Regions from separate parts of the Homo sapiens genome. Here all the other regions are linked to region 2. Evidence: promoter capture Hi-C in 16 types of primary human blood cells and fetal thymus (Javierre and others, 2016). All regions are on one chromosome and are shown on one strand. Each heading gives the region's core, a stretch centred on a gene start or on the middle of the fragment in contact. The rest is flanking DNA. Distances are from core to core; before and after follow the strand shown.

Region 1 (3,211 bases), core at 402-2,901, 300 kb after region 2:
TTTAAGAAAATAACCTTGGCCCAGTTAGCCGGGTATATCATAAAAATAGCTTTGAAAAAGGGTAAGTACATATCAGTCCAGAAGTAAGAACATTAATATTGACTCTTTCTCCCTACAAACCATTTTTATAAAGCATAATCAAAATACTTTAATTTAGATAGTTATGTCCAGCGTTTAGAGAACCTGTAGTTGTTTTCTAACTGCAAAGACTTTAACCAGTTGGACTCTTTAAGCCTTCATATCATTAAGCTTGTCCTGGATCACTCATTTTCTCTAGTTTCTCAAGCTCTTAACCCAGTCTGTTGTTTTCTCACTGATTATCCAAGTTCTTGCCTCCTGTTTCATACCTATGATTGAAGCCACCAGCCATGAACTACAACTTTCTGCATTATCACCTTCCCTGCTTCCCTAAACCCAGCATAGCTACATTCTCATTCAAGTCTCAGAAGGATAGCATGTTTCTCTTCTATTTAAGGAAAATTCCTTCATCTTTGCTCCTAGTTTCATTTATCCCTTTTCCTCTGAGATCTGGATCCCAAAATTTCATCATGTGCTCTGGCTTCAGTCTCTCACTTTCTATTCCGTTTTCTCCCACAGACTGAGCATGCTTGAGTATTTTTATCTATTAATACTAAACGGAAAAGTCCTTGACTCTGCAACCCATTCTAGTTATTGTCCTTTTGTTTGCCTTTTTACATACTTGAAGAAATTCACATGTTCCATTGACTCCTCAGCCCACTCTAGTCTGACCCCCTACAGCCTTCACTCCACTGATTTTAACCAAGAACATCAGCGACCTCATGCTACTACGGTGGACATTCCTCCTCCACGTTCCTTCTTGTGTGGTGCTGCATTATTGCCATGGGCCTTACTAGGGTTCCTGCATCTTTTAACTCCCTAGCTTCCTTCATGCCCTTCTACTGCCCTCTCCAGCTTTCCCTTCTCTGGTTTATGAACTACTCTTGCCCCTCCCTTCAACTGTGGCATTCCCCAGGACTCTGTCCTCACACTGCAGATTCTCACTGCATGATGGCAAAGCTTAGTTAACACAGTTGAGGGCTCCCCAAAGTGTGTCAGCCTTCCAATTTCAGACTTGAATATTAAGCAGCTGGCTTCACATCTCATTCATTCAGTGAATCGTTGATTCATCAATATTCTGATCATCTACCATCACCAGACTGGGTCTTAAAAGACTGAGTAATGAAAATACAGGTTCTGCTGTGTCAATGGGAAAGACGGGGAGAAAAACCAGACAGTGGCCACACAGTGAATCACATATTCCAAGAGAAGCAAGCAAAGGGTGCCGTGAGCACAAAGCAATAGTGACAATCACTGGTTCTTAGGGCTTTTCAGGACGTTATTCTTAGGACCTTAAGTTAATCAAACATGCAGGAAGAGAGATCCTTTTCCTCATTTCTCTCACATTTCTTACCCCAGTCACTCAGTCACCTAAATTTAAACCCAGTTATCCTTGGCTTCTTCGTCATGTTGGGTTTTCAGTCAGACACCAAGTTCTACTCATTTCAGTCCCAAGATAGGCCTCAAATCCAGCCCACTCCGCCAGTTGTACTACCTCCGTCCTGATTCAAGGCCTCGTCATCTATCACCTGCATTACTGCAGTAGACTCAGGTCAGCTCCATGCTTTGATCTCATTGGATCTACCTTTCCAAGGCCAGCAAAAACGGGCACCTGACTTAGTCACTGCTCCGTGTGAAAGTCTCCCAGTCCTGCAGCAGATGTTCTCCAGCCTCTCATCAGAGTCCCAGAGGCAGGGCGCCCCTAAATCTGTCTCTATATAGCGGGTCCCAGCGCTGCAGATTCTAATTCTGTAGAGCTGCTGGACTGGATGCTTTGTTTTTAAATTCCCTAAGAGATTTTGACACCTGACCAGATTGAGAAACCCTTGGCCTGCAAGGATAAAGTCGGAGCCCTTCTGCCTGTGCATGAGGCCCTTCATGACCTGGCTTCAGCTTAGCAGTCGGCTGCATTTCCTGCCATGTCCTGTGCCACCCTTTACCCTCACATTCCAGCAATATTGAACCATGCATTCCCTTACCATCACGCCGTTTTGTGTCTCCCTTCATTTGTCCCCTCTCTTTCTCTTCACCTGAGTGAGGTATCTTTCCTTTGTTCCCATGGCAGCGATCAGTGCACAGTGATATTTGCCAGTCATTTCAGACTCTCATCCTCTCATTTTCTGTATCAGTTTATTAAAGATTGCATTAGAGGGTTCAACATTAATGTCATCTTACAATATACATAAATAAGCTTTTGCTTTTTTCTCATAAATGACCTTCATTTCAATTTATGTAGGAAAAAGTATAATTTATCAACAAGTGCATTTTTAAGTGACTTGTTTGGTTTTGAAACTGAAGGTATATTAAAATGTAGTTTGTTGATTAGTGATATCAAAAATAGACCAAAACAACAACTGCTTTCAGTGACCCAGAGTTTGGGAATCTTGAACTTTGCATTTGAAACAAGCTGATTAAATTTTATAATTTTTATGTTTGTAAATGACAAAGGTTTGGGGCTGCCATTTTCAAGCTTTTCTTTGCAAGTAATTTGGGATGTGGATGGTCTTGATTCTCAGTAAGTCAGAAGTTAAGTTGACAAATTGTCACTGTATTTTTGCTTTTTAATGTTGGCTTTTGAGATATTAGATTCATCTTGATGTTCTGTGTAAGAATTTTGATTAGGTAAACACAGTTTTTGGATCTGATGGAGATCACGACAGAACTTTGCAGAAGTATCATTTCAAAGACGTCAGAATCTGAGTTCTGTCTTGGTATAACTGGTGTAAATTACACAAGGGATGACTGTGAATTTTAAAAGTTATAGTGGTCAGAACCACCACCACCTAGCCTTGGTTGCAATACTGATTATGCCTGCCTGAGTCATGAGCACATTCATTTGTTTTTCACGAAAAGAAAGCATGTTTAGATAGTTACACTATTTTCTGATTTTTCAAAAATCACAGTTGCCTCTACCAATTTAAACCCCATGCTCCATATTCCAGAAGTTGACGAGCCCTGATTGGGACTAACGTAGCTTGAGATCTGAATTGCGTGACTCCAGATAAGTTACTCAACCTCTCTAAACTTCAGTTTGCTTTGCTGTGAAATGTAGAGAATATTGTACCACCTGCCTCACAGGGTTGTTGTAGGTATTAAGTAGTACTTACCATAATCACTTAGTAAATGGTAGCTG
Region 2 (2,947 bases), core at 432-2,931:
AAGGCACTGGTTTGCAGTGATTTGTTACCCAACAATAGATAACTGAGACATTACCCATATGCGTAACTAAAGGAAGTGCTCAATTCCAATTGGAGATTGCTAAAAATAGTTATGTTTTTTCCCCATCAAAGTTCAGGGATCCTCTGAAATCTATGTGCAGATCCTTTGAGGAGCTGAGGGCCCCAGGTTAGGAACCCCTGGTTAAGCCAAGTGGATCCTGCTCTCCTTTTTACTACTTTACTACACTGTTGGTACACATATAGTTAAACTGGCCACAGCATATCTTTCCTTGTTGTAACCCTGAAATGGAGCTGAGCTCCTAGCACATAACAGGTGTTTAACACACAAATTTATCAAATGAATGTTGATTATAGGATCTGTCTTCCTGACTAAACTGTGAGCTGCCTGAAAACAGAGTAAGAGCAAATACTAGGCCTTTTCCAAGTGCTTTACACATACCAACTTACTCCTTATAACAACCCTATGAGGTAGATGTTATTACCCCAACTTCACCAAAGGAAGATAGGCACAGTGACTTGCCCAAGGTCACACAGCTAGAAAGTGGCAATGCCAGGACTAGAAGGCAGAATGCATGTTCTGATTTTACAGCCTTTATTAACGTACCCAAAGCACATTGCAGAGCTCAATAAAACTTTTAAATGAATAGTACAATTCTGAGATTTCATTAGCACTATTTTATGGGTACTATGCTTCTTGAAGACTCAATTTTGTAGATTAATTTCTGGTAGCCTGTGATTTTTTATGACAAAATACATATAATTTACTTTTTAAAAAGTAGAATAATGGCTTTATGCTAAAGTGCAGATTTTCGAAATTAAGTCTTCATCGTAAAAGTCGATTTTTTTCCAAAGGACACGAGTTCACAAAACGCAGGGAAGGGGGTCCACTGGCCCGTATTAAATAATGTTCCCTGAGGAGTGGAGCAAAGCTCCAGCTTCCCTCGTCACCCAGCCATCCCACCCCAGCCTCCCCCATACCCTGCACAGCTTCTCCTAAAATGACCCTCCCCCATCCACACATCAGGTTCTGAAACCTGACCCTGCCAGGCAACTAAAGCCGCGAACCCCACAGTGCCCTGAGCTGGCCTCACCCTACCCACGATCCCAAGAGGGTACTAGCCGAGGGGATGGGTACTTTGGGGGAAGGCACTTTAAATTTTCAAAGTGTTTAATTCACGAAAGCACAACCCAAAGGGCCGCCCCCACCCACCCGGGGGTCTCCCGCCTCCGCCCGGCAGCCGCTCATCCCCAGTAGACCAGTGAATGAACCGCGGGGCCGGGACGCAGCCGGCCCAGTGGCGGGAAAAGCCTCGGGGTGAGCCAGGCCTGGCTGCAGAGAGGCCCCAAGAGAGCGCGGGGAGGGCTCGGGCGGCCGGGAGGGGGCGGTGACAGCTGTGACTCGACTCCACGCTCTCACCTTGAACATGTCGCTGGCAGCGGAGGCTCCGGCAGGGTCACCCCGGCCTCGGCCACGCCCACTATAGAGAGGTGACTACGGAGGCCCGGTAGGGCCTTGATTTCTCCAACCGCAAGCAGGCAGCGGTGCGGGTGACGGCCGTACTGCAAACTCGGTGCGGCGAAGGTTTAGTTCAATCACCCGGTTCTAGAAGCCGCGTCGCTGAGCCGCAGCGCGTCGCGCCCGGGCAGCGGGTGAACGCAAACCCCGCCCTCCAGGAGGCTCCGCCCCTGCGCCGGCGGTTGCTAGGCGGCAAGAAAGCGCCGGCTCTGTGTGGACGGTACGCGGAGGCGCGAGGAGGGAGGCGCCTGGCGTTGCCGCGGCGCTGGGAAACTGTCTTTGCAGCGGCGACTGGGCGCCCAGCGGCGTGTACTGGGATTTCTGTGAGCAGAGGCTGCCGAGAGGGGGCGCTTGGAGGGCCACCGGCGGCTTCGAAAGCTTCGCAGCCGGAAGCCGCCGGTTGGCGGCCTGGATTTACCTTACGAAAGGTTTTAACCAAGGACTTGAGGTTTCTCAGGTTTTAAATTTAAACTAATATGCTGTGTCCTTTAATCGGAAAAGGCTCTGACCTTATTTTTTCCCGTTAAGAAACAAGCGGTAAGCCTCCTCTCTGGAAATCAAATGTTTGTCCCTTAATACTTGTAGAAGTAACTGATAATGGCAATAATTATCTTATTAACAAGAGTAAACAAGCACTGATACAGCACTTTGATATGCGCAGCCCTGATCTAAGTTCTTTATTCACATTCATCTAATCTTTCCAACAACGGAAGTAGGTGGGCATGATTATTATTCCCAATACATAGATGAAGAAACTGAGGCACGTAGAAGTAATTTGTACAAGACCACATAGGAAGTGGGAAGCTAGGATCCAAACCCATTAGTCTGCCTTTGAAACCTGTGTTCTAGCCAAAACAATTGTTGCACTGTCTCATAATGAGGATGTATTTCCTATTTCATTCTGTATTTCTGCCCTAATCCTATAAAAAGTGTAAGCCCCATCCAGGCGAGCATCTGGAAAAATTTAGAATTTGTACAGTGACGTGCCACTGCCCTCCAGCCAAAGACCACTAGGGGCACACCTGTAGTTGAAGAAATTGGGTTTCTCATTGCTGCAAGGAGAACGCACACGTAGGAACACAGTGACATATTTCAGTAAAAGAGTTAGATTTATTATAGGATTTGGGCTTTGGTTCGGTGATTTTGGGGCGAGTTCAAGGAAGCAGGAGCTTTGCTCTGGATCGGGTGTTGTTAGGAAGCAGTGGTAACACCAAGGCCCAGCTGTGACTGCCAGCCTTGGTGTTAGTTAAGCCCAGCTTAGCTCCCAGATGTTAAGGGCTGCTTTTCTCTTTCTTAAGAGGATTGTATATTCCAAGGCATCCCCAAGGAGAAATACTGAATAGACTCAGAAGGCTCTCTGCATCAGCAGTGTAACGTCACACATACATAAAAATGTGAAACATATTGATAA
Region 3 (3,328 bases), core at 624-3,123, 260 kb after region 2:
TGCTTTTTTTTTTTTTTTTTTTTTTACATGACGGATCATATTTGCGGATACTTGACTTGGGATTCATAATTAACCAAGTTTGTAATTTGGTTAAATTATTTTTGTTAGGTTTTTTTTTTTTTTTTTTTTTTTTTTTTTTTGATACAGAGTCTCACTCTGTCGCCCAGGCTGGAGTGCAATGGCGCGATCTTGGCTCACTGCAACCTCTGCCTCCTGGGTTCAAGTGATTCTCGTGCCTCAGCCTCCTGAGTAGCTGGGACTACAGGCGCGAGCAACCACGCCCAGCTAAGTTTTGTATTTTTGGTAGAGATGGGGTTTCACCATGTTGGCCAGGCTGGTCTCGAACTCCTGACCTCAGGTGATCCACCCACCTCAGCCTTCCAAAGTGCTGGGATTACAGGCATTAGTCACCATGCCCGGCCGCCTAGCTAATTTTTAAAATTATTTTGTCAAGATGGAGTCTAGCTATTTTGTCCAGGCTGGTCTTGAACTCCTTGCTGCAAGTGATCTCCTGCCTTGGCTTCCCAAAGCGCTGGGATTACGGGTGTGAGCCACTGTGCCCAGGCCCCCTCTTTTAAAAAAAAGAAAAAAAAAAAAAAAAAAATTCATTACGATCGGGTTTTCTTTTATTGAGTTAATGCTGGTAATTTACATTTTCCGTCACTGTGCTAGTGTAGAATTCTAGACCATTTTCATACAAGTTGTTTTCTTTTTTTCTGTTTTTTTTTTTTCTTATTTCAAATTGTATATGTTTGTGCTTTCTCCCAGTTTCTTCCCCTCTTTTAGATTATTATCTTGTATTTTATTGTCTTCCCAACCCCCTGGAAAAAGCTTGGTTTGGAGATTTTTTTGGGGTAAAAATTAGCTGGCTCCCTAGCTTTGCTCCAGAGAATGGTCATGAAATTAATGGTTGCTGATACTCAACCTGGAGCATGCCTGTTGTTGGTCTTTTGAGAAGCAGGCGTATTTCAAACCTGCCCCTGCATTGCCCAGCTTGTTCTTTTCTTTTATTATTTTTTTAATGATTAAAGGATTTATTAAATTCCATGTGCAAAACACATTGCTGATTGCATTAGCAAAAGATCAATGTAAAAATACCCCACAATTCTGGAACTGTCCATTTAAAATATTTGTTCTAGTTGTTGAAAGGCCCAGTGTTATATTCTTGCCAGTGCTTAAGGTATACAGAGAATACTGTAAGTGTTAACACTGAGTTTACAGAACCTCATAGGCCGAAAGTAATGTATTTAGGAAAAGCAATAATAGTAAGTATGCATTCATGTAGGTGAGATATAGTATGGTCAATATGGGTCAAATTACAGCGTTGGTGATCAGTGACAAGGGAGTTGGCAAGACAATTATGTTAAGAAAGATCATAGTTTAAGAATATTTAGGGCTGGGCACGGTGCCTCACACCTGTAATCCCAGCACTTTGGGAGGCTGAGGCGGGTGGATCACCTGAGGTCAGGAGTTCGAAACCAGCCTGGCCAACGTGGTGAAACCCTGTCTCTACTAGTAAAAAATACAAAAAATTAGCCAGGCGTGGTGGTGCATGCCTGTAAATGCCAGCTACTTTTGGGAGGCTGAGGTAGGAGAATTGCTTGAACCTGGGAGGCAGAGATTGTAGTGAGCTGAGATGGCGATGTTGCACTCCAGCCTGGGCAACAAGAGTGAAACTCCGTCTGAAAAAAAAAAAAAAAATTTAGAGTGTTTTGAAAACTGTAAACCTGCAAGGCATGATTTTTACAACTAGTTACCAGAAAATGAAGGAAAGCACATAATTAGCTTGAATAAAGTAACATGAAAGCGAGACTGCACTAATTTAAAAAAACCCCAAATCCTAATACAGTATCAGAAAAATATTTTCTTTTCTTTCTTTTTTTTGAGACGGAGTCTCGCTCTATCACCAGGCTGGAGTGCAGTGGCATGAATTTGGCTCACTGCAACCTTTGCCTCCTGAGTTCAAGCAGTTCCCCTGCCTCAGCCTCCTGAGTAGCTGGGACTACAGGCACGTGCCACCACGCCTGGCTAATTTTTTGTATTGTAGTAGAGACAGGGTTTCACTATCTTGGCCAGGATGTTCTCGATCTCCTGACCTTGTGATCCGCCAGCCTCGGCCTCCCAAAGTGCTGGGATTATAGGCGTGAGCCACCACGCCCGGCCAGAAAGATTTTCTAATACAAGGAGACATATTGCTCATTGAGAAGGGGTTTGATAAGAAAACTTACTAAGTTAACAACTATGTTAATGACTAGTTCAGAGATAAATTAAATGCCCAATTTTGGGAAAGGTAGCAGGTGCAAGAAAAAGGAAATGTATAAGAAAACAGTTTCTGATACTTAAACCTTTCTTCATCATGTACTGCATTTGACAGAAATTAACCTTTTAAAAATTTTACCTAGGATGGTTTTATTTCATTTATTCCATGTACAATGTAGTCTAAATCTCCACTTGATACCATGTCAGAATCCTGTCTTCATCCTTTGATTACATCAAGTGTTTCTCACACTGCTCGAACTAAGTCTGCAACTAAAGGTAGAATACTTCAGTAGAGGAAACGTGAATAGAATTTCTTTTCAGAATTTCAGCAAAAACTAATAAGCTATTTTAAAGTTTTTCACTATGAAATAAAAGAGTGATCCAAAGAGTTGAGTTGTTTTACTCATTCCATTATGATATATGGTAGAATGTTATGGAATGAACATGGATATTGCTAAATTATTGAATGCATTAAATGGCAGTACTTTATTAAGGAGGCTGTACTGCTTTAAATATCTGAAAACTAGTTAGAATGTGTGCATTTCCTCACATCAAGCTAAGCCTTAAAAACAAAAGCATTTAAAACTAGTGTTTGTAGCTCATTGGTACAAGTAGGTTCAGAGAGTATTGTGTCAACTCTTAATCTGAGCAGGAATAGAAGCTTTGAGAAAATAGGCTTTAAGAAGGTTTGTCATTTTACAGCCAAGTTTTAATAGATTGTGAAAGTTTGGACTCTTAGATTTTAAACAAACAAAACCTTGAAATTACTGATTGGCTCAGCGTGGTTTTATGGAAAAACTAATACAAAAACTTGGCCTTGACTATTTGAGCAAAGCCTACAAAAGTTCCAGATGGGACAGGGCAAGGAAGGATGGGGCTCTATTTACAACAGCAGATATTTTCTTTTCCTCTTCTTGACGTGGAGTAGGCAGGGCTATTTGAAAATAAAATATTCTTTTCTTAGAGAATGGAACTTGAATTACAGTTATTAGATTAATATCGATTATATACATTTTCTCTTTTCCTTTTAGACTAGTTGATCTGTTAAGTGTTGATAGTTGTTGTAACC

Evidence for each region. The method cuts DNA at HindIII sites, captures the fragments that hold promoters and counts their contacts. A CHiCAGO score of 5 or more calls a contact.
Region 1: a fragment that was not itself captured here is called in contact with the fragment with the promoter of APOO in region 2 in 2 of 17 cell types (total CD4 T cells and activated CD4 T cells); the score reaches 6.8 in total CD4 T cells.
Region 3: a fragment that was not itself captured here is called in contact with the fragment with the promoter of APOO in region 2 in 6 of 17 cell types (activated CD4 T cells, total CD8 T cells, naive CD8 T cells and 3 more); the score reaches 6.8 in activated CD4 T cells.

What each region holds. Positions count from the first base shown.
Region 1 is chrX:24,201,679-24,204,889 of GRCh38, forward strand. The region is part of intron 5 of ZFX (zinc finger protein X-linked); the gene reads left to right. Among named protein-coding and RNA genes, the nearest start is that of ZFX, 54 kb to the left of the region's middle. The HindIII fragment of the contact is 1,231 bases long and covers 1,037-2,267 here.
Region 2 is chrX:23,906,257-23,909,203 of GRCh38, forward strand. APOO (apolipoprotein O) reads right to left here and starts at 1,682. Exons shown (of 9, transcript NM_024122.5): 1 at 1,438-1,682. The coding sequence starts at 1,446. It overlaps CXorf58 (chromosome X open reading frame 58), which reads left to right and starts at 1,750. Exons shown (of 9, transcript NM_152761.3): 1 at 1,750-2,073. RefSeq lists a silencer at 1,082-1,251 and an enhancer at 1,432-1,641. The HindIII fragment of the contact is 4,107 bases long and covers 1-1,912 here.
Region 3 is chrX:24,163,256-24,166,583 of GRCh38, forward strand. The region is part of intron 3 of ZFX (zinc finger protein X-linked); the gene reads left to right. Among named protein-coding and RNA genes, the nearest start is that of ZFX, 15 kb to the left of the region's middle. The HindIII fragment of the contact is 2,089 bases long and covers 830-2,918 here.